Regions from separate parts of the Homo sapiens genome. Here region 2 is linked to region 1. Evidence: promoter capture Hi-C in 16 types of primary human blood cells and fetal thymus (Javierre and others, 2016). All regions are on one chromosome and are shown on one strand. The core of a region is centred on a gene start or on the middle of the fragment in contact, and the rest is flanking DNA. Distances in the headings are between cores, read along the strand shown.

Evidence for each region. The method cuts DNA at HindIII sites, captures the fragments that hold promoters and counts their contacts. A CHiCAGO score of 5 or more calls a contact.
Region 2: a contact is called between a fragment that was not itself captured here and the fragment with the promoter of PHLDA1 in region 1, in 3 of 17 cell types (M0 macrophages, M2 macrophages and endothelial precursors). The highest score is 7.6, in M0 macrophages.

Annotation. Positions count from the first base shown.
Region 1 is chr12:76,030,526-76,033,418 of GRCh38, forward strand. PHLDA1 (pleckstrin homology like domain family A member 1) reads right to left here and starts at 1,251. Exons shown (of 2, transcript NM_007350.3): 1 at 1-1,251. The coding sequence starts at 1,216. The coding sequence ends at 11. It overlaps PHLDA1-AS1 (PHLDA1 antisense RNA 1), which reads left to right. Exons shown (of 2, transcript NR_186034.1): 1 at 1-69; 2 at 386-853. PHLDA1-DT (PHLDA1 divergent transcript) reads left to right here and starts at 1,288. Exons shown (of 2, transcript NR_185978.1): 1 at 1,288-2,277; 2 at 2,739-2,893. RefSeq lists a silencer at 787-936 and an enhancer at 1,157-1,406. The HindIII fragment of the contact is 8,299 bases long and covers 1-2,893 here.
Region 2 is chr12:75,840,460-75,843,352 of GRCh38, forward strand. No RefSeq gene overlaps it. Among named protein-coding and RNA genes, the nearest start is that of PHLDA1-AS1, 190 kb to the right of the region's middle. The HindIII fragment of the contact is 1,747 bases long and covers 484-2,230 here.

The sequences.
Region 1 (2,893 bases), core at 1-2,500:
GCTGCCCCTTTCAGGCAGAGTTGGAGGTGCTGCGGAGAAGCCGGTGCCCGTGCGGCTGCGAGTGCGGCTGTGGGTGTGGGTGCGGTATTTGGTGCGGATGCGGGTGCGGGTGAGGGTGTGGGTGCGAGTGAGGATGAGAGTGTGGATGTGGATGTGGATGCGGATACGGGTGGAGCTGCTGGGGCTGAGGCTTGGGTTGGGGCTGAGGCTGGGGTTGTGATTGGGGCTGGGGTTGCGGCTGAGGCTGAGGCTGGGGTTGGGGCTGGAGCTGCGGCTGCGGCTGCGGCTGCGAGGGGGGCTGCTGCTGGACCAGGTGCTGCTGCTTCTGCCGCGTGGATTTGACCGCCAGGATGGCCTGACGATTCTTGTACTGCACCATCTGCAGCGTGATCTCGGCGTTCCAGCCCTGGTCTTGCGGGCACCGAAAGTCGATCTCCTTGCCCTCTGCCATCACCACAGTGAAGTACATGTACTTGCCCTTGCGCTCCACACAGTCCACGGTCTTCATGTTGGAGAAGTGCAGTTCCTTGAGCTTGACCGGCGGCTCGAGGCTGGCGACAGCGGGGCCACTGGGTTGGGACGGCTCGGCCGGCCCCTGCCCGGGCTGTTGTTGCTGCTGCTGCTGCTGCTGTTGCTGCTGCTGCTGCTGGTGTTGCAGCTGCTTGGGCGGGATAAGCAGCAGCCCTTCCTCGGTGAGGATGCAACACTTTTTCTTCCAGAGCTGCAACAACCCGTCGCTGCGCTTCTCCAGCACGCCCTCCTTCAGCGCTTTGCAGCCGCTACTCTCCAGCATCCTCCCAGCATAAGAGGGGCCGCCGCTTGGCTCGGCCTCTCCGTTTCCAGCCGCGCGGGCCGGGGGCAGCAGCAGCAGCCTCGCGCCGTCCTCGCCCCAGCGGCTCCCACGGCCGCCTGCCCGGAGCGCGCAGAGGAGGCTAACACGCAGGAGGCAGAGCGGCGGCGGCGGCTCTGGGTCCCGGCAGAGGGACAGCCGCGTCCTGATGCGCCACAAGGTCCCGGAGCTCCGAGCTGCCGGGCCTCTGCCGTCCTCTTGCGAGCGCTCACTGAAGGGCACTGGCCGGGCCCCCTCGCGGCGCTTTTGAATGGGCCATCTTCCCCACCCCCGAGTGACACCCAGCGGAAAAGGCGGCTCCTGGCGCCCGCACCGCGGGGGAAAGCCCAGCTCCAAGAGGCGCTCGGCAGCCGGCGCACGCCTCATTAACTTGGGGCCTTTCCAAAGCCCGCTGCGTCCACGCCCTCCAGCGTCTCTTGCTCCGCCTCTCGCCGCCCACTTGCTTCCGCGCTCGTTCCCCTGGAAGGCGACCCGGACCCGAGCCCCGGAAACTCCTCTCCTCTACCCAGGGCGATCGCCCAAGGAGCCCTGGCTGCCTGACTACTGCCGACGCTCACAGGGCGCTGCGAGGCCATCCCCCGCGTCCCGCTTCTCCCCGGCCCGCGGGACTCTCTGCTAACAGCCTCAGAAAGTGAGGACGGGGGCGCGGAGGCGGGGGCAGCCTCCAGGCAGTGCTGCCTCTCGGTTCTTGGGAATTAGCCCGGGGGATTCGCGCTGGGCTCCGAGAGCCCGCAGAACCAGCGTCGTGTCCTGGGCGAGCTGGGAGGCCGGGGCCGAGTCCCGCGAGTCCCGCGAGTGTGCCTCCCCCGGACGCCTAGGTAAACAACTGAGCGCACAGAGGCCGAGAGGACATCGTGTCTTCCCACGCATATTCGCTCACGGTCACTAAGTAGCTCTTCTTGGAAAGAGGGCGATTGTTAAAGCAATAGTGCGACTGTCGGGCTTGCCACGGGTGGAGAGAGGCGGACCCACGTCAGGTCGCATCTCGCCTGCTTTTCTCGACCCCGACCGCAGGCGCTAACCCGTCTTCGGCTTTCTTCTTGACCCGTACGGTTTGCAACGTCTCTTAAAACAGTAACTCAACTCTCTACAAACCGGGGTAATATCCGGTGCTGAGATCCCACACTGCAAGGCGCAGTTCCAAACGTCTGGTCGGCCTCGCAGGTCCCTCTTTCCAAGGCCTAGCCAGATCTTGGTTTTGGAATCTCATTTATCTGTGACCTGGGGAATGCAATACCCCCAGCTCCCTCCTACTCCTACATTTAAACAATGCCTATAGAAGCCGCTTCCTGGGAAGTAAGGCATAACCGAGACCTAGCCTCCCGGTAGGGAAGTTCATCCGTTTAGTAAACAGCCCCAACTACGTGCGGACCCTCACGGGGATACGAAGAATTCAACCAGGGCTGGACAAGTCAGAGTGGGCCAAGGTAAGAGTTACGGCTGCTACTGTGCCCACGTTGGAACAGATAGATTAGTTCATCTGCTAGTTGTGTGGCAAGAGCAAAGAATTCAAGAGGGGAAGAGAAAGTGAGAGGAGCTTAGAGAGCTAAGCAAGAATCGAATCCTTTGTGTGTCATGGTAAGAAATTCGAACTTAATACCAAGGTAGTCAGAACAAAGGACAACTTTTATACACGAGGGCGTCCTGAATATTCATCTAAGAAACAATGTCTGATCAAACGGGACAATCCAGCCAGCAATCCTGAGTCCCACCGGATTATGCTTGGCCAGCTTTCTAGCCTTCACATTGTTAATTTATTAGCAATCTTTTCAGGAGAAAGGCAATTATTAAAATTATGTGGACTTCTAGTAAAATTATCTCGAAGATTTACAATTATGTATACCAATAACAAAAAAACTACATGTTTTCTGCTCCCCTGCCTTTGTAGGACAAGTGAGCATTCCAGAGAATTTCTACATGACCAGCTGTTCATTCTTTTAAGAGGATGACATTCTTCAGCTCATCTGGAAAGGATACTTCCTTTAAGTCTGTTATTCACAGTCTCCAAGGGCAGGTGTAGTTGGGAAAGACATTTCATATGGA
Region 2 (2,893 bases), core at 107-2,606, 190 kb before region 1:
AGCCTTCATGTCATCCCCACCAGGGCACTCTAGATAATTCCACTCTCCAGTCATACCATTCTTCCCAGCTGAGGCCCCAAATATAATAGGGCAGCAACATAGTCATCACTACTTTGTACTGTTTGAATTTCTGATGCACATAATCTATCGGTAGAGTAAAATGGCTGTTGTTTTATACTTCTAAGTTTGGTATAGTTTGCTATATAGTGTAGGAAAACAGCTTATTGCATGGCAAGAGTAATGCCATCTTGAAGCAAAACCACCATAATGACTGATGTCTGACTCCTGCAGCAAGGTTAAGAAACACCTATAGTATAGATAACCCCTCATAAAGAAACAATGCCTGTAGCATAAATAACCCCTCATAAAGAAGCAATGCCTGTAGCATAGATAATCCCTCATAAAAACACTTAACTAACTTCCCCAGTGGTGAGTTTCACAAGAGGGTTGAAGACATGACCAGTTGCACATTTTACCAAAAAAAGCTTGCTAAATAAGGAATACTCTCTGGAGGGCAGGTATGGGGATCCACTGTCTAGAGGCCATCCCAAGACACGGCTTCTGTTCCTAAGTTTCTCTTAAACGTTCCTCTCAGAGAAACTGCATTTGTCAGTCTCTTTCTTCAGCCTCTCAACTCCCTCAGCCTTTGAGGTTAGGTTTGCATAGACCTGCTCACTGTGGAACATACAGCAACAGATAATCAGAACAGAACTGAGATAGTCAAAGCATCTCTGGCTATTGTTTATGAATGTAATGAGAGAAAGAAAGAGAAATAGTCCTCTGCCACTTTATGCTATATGTGTTATCTCATTTAATCCTCACAGAAGTTATGCAAATTTAGGATTATTTTTCCCACCATTTACGCTCTGAGAGGTTTAAAACAACTTGCCCAGGGATGAAACTAAAATCTGCACCTGGGACTATTTGACCCCATACATCTATCACATCTCACTTCTGCTCAATTGTCCAGAATCAGCTACATGTTCCCAGAAGTCACAGAACACTGTAAGTAAAACCAGCTTTTACATTCAATGAGTTGCTTTTTGAGCACCTCTCTCTGCCAGATATTGTGCTCAGTGCTCATATCAAGTGAGCAAAATAAGCTCATATTGGTCCCTTCCTCCAATCTTATGTCTGCTCTTGTTGACCCGTTTTTCCACATCAGAGGTAGTTTTTAAAATCCACATCTGTAAGATATTCCCCCTGCTTAAACTTTTGCAGGGGTTTCTCTCTAGCCCATGCCACAGCGATTCACAAACTTGATCCAATAACTGGTGCCAAGGCTGACTGCATGAAAATCAACCAAGGCATGCTATGGGCATAGAGATTCCCAGTCTTTGCTTGCAGAGATTCTGATTCAGGAAGCTCCCCAGTGGCTCCTGTGTGCAGCCATGTTGGCAAACGCTGGCCAAGAGGTTAACATCAAATTCTTCCACATGGCATATGAAGTCCAGCATAATCTGACCCCTACTCAACCCTCTAAACTCACCTTCTGCTACTCCTTCGCCTAACGCATCATTCCACAAACACATCTTTGAGGCCTCTTGGTCTCTGGATATTCTGTTCCTTACACAAGAAATGCATTTCCCTCACTGAACTGTTTGGTGAAATCATCTGCTCTTCCCTGAGCATTCCCTGGCTCCCCTTACAAACAGAGTCAATGTCCTTTCCCTGTATTTCCATTGCCCCTCATACCTATCTCCAGTCACTTAACTCAGGCTAAGTGATGTGCTGAAGCCAGGGACCCAGGCTTATTCACTTTAGAATCCCCAGGGTTAGCACAGTGCCCCATTTATCAAAGATAGTCAACAAACGTTTGCTGAATGAATAACCCAATGTGTTTCCTTTCAGCTCTAGCTGCCAAGAAATGCAGAGCCAAATTCAGTTACCAAGTATAGTAATTAGCTCATCCCAGGTGCCTGGTAACATCTGCTCCCTGCTTCTTTGAGATGGTCTCTGTTTTCTTTTTAGCCATAATTGTCCTATTTCACATTAGGTTTAATTTAGTATGTTCTTTCACATCCCTTTGAAAGAAGGTGGGATATAAGTTCTGAATAAATCAATAGATACAGAGTTCCTCAAAAGACACCTGCGTTGGCATAGCATAAGAGTAAGGGGAGAAAATTACTGGAAAATATGCTATGTTTCTCAAATCAAATGATTAATACTTCTTCATGTTTTCTTTAATGAATAAAAATAAATAACTGTGAGGAAATCCCACCCAGATGAAAGCTTATTCATTTAACAAATAGTTACTGAGCACCTACTTTGTATAAGGCATACTGGTGACATGAACAGCGAAGACATGATTAAGATCCTAGAAATCAAAGAGCTTACTGTGGGGTAGGTTAGAGGAGACCTGTATATAAACACAGTCTTGCAAATTATGAAGTGATCATGTCTATACTAAGAATGCAAGAAGAGAATGGATTTCTACCTGTTAGAGTCCAAGAAGGCTTCACTGAGGTCATACAGTCTGACCTGGGCCTTAAACGATGCATAAGATTTAGACATGTAAAAAAGCCTTGGTCTTAGAACGTCTGCCTCTGTCTAGCTTTTTTTACATAAGAATGTATGGCAGGCAAACTATGGGTTGGCTGGATGAGACTATCTAATACTTATCGAACTCTCATTTAATATAATTCCTGGAGTAATATATGCACCAGGCTTTATATTACATGGCTTATTATGTTTTTGGTCTTCAAATAACCCTATGGGCTAAACAGATAAAGAAACTGAGCCTTAGAAGTTACATGACTTGCACAAGGTCACACAGCCACATGTGCCAGAGCTGAGACCCAATCAAGGCAGACTCTAGGGCTTTACACTTAAGCCCTCCCAGACACTTATTCAAGGAGCAAAGATTTATACCTGGGAGCAGGAGATGAGACCA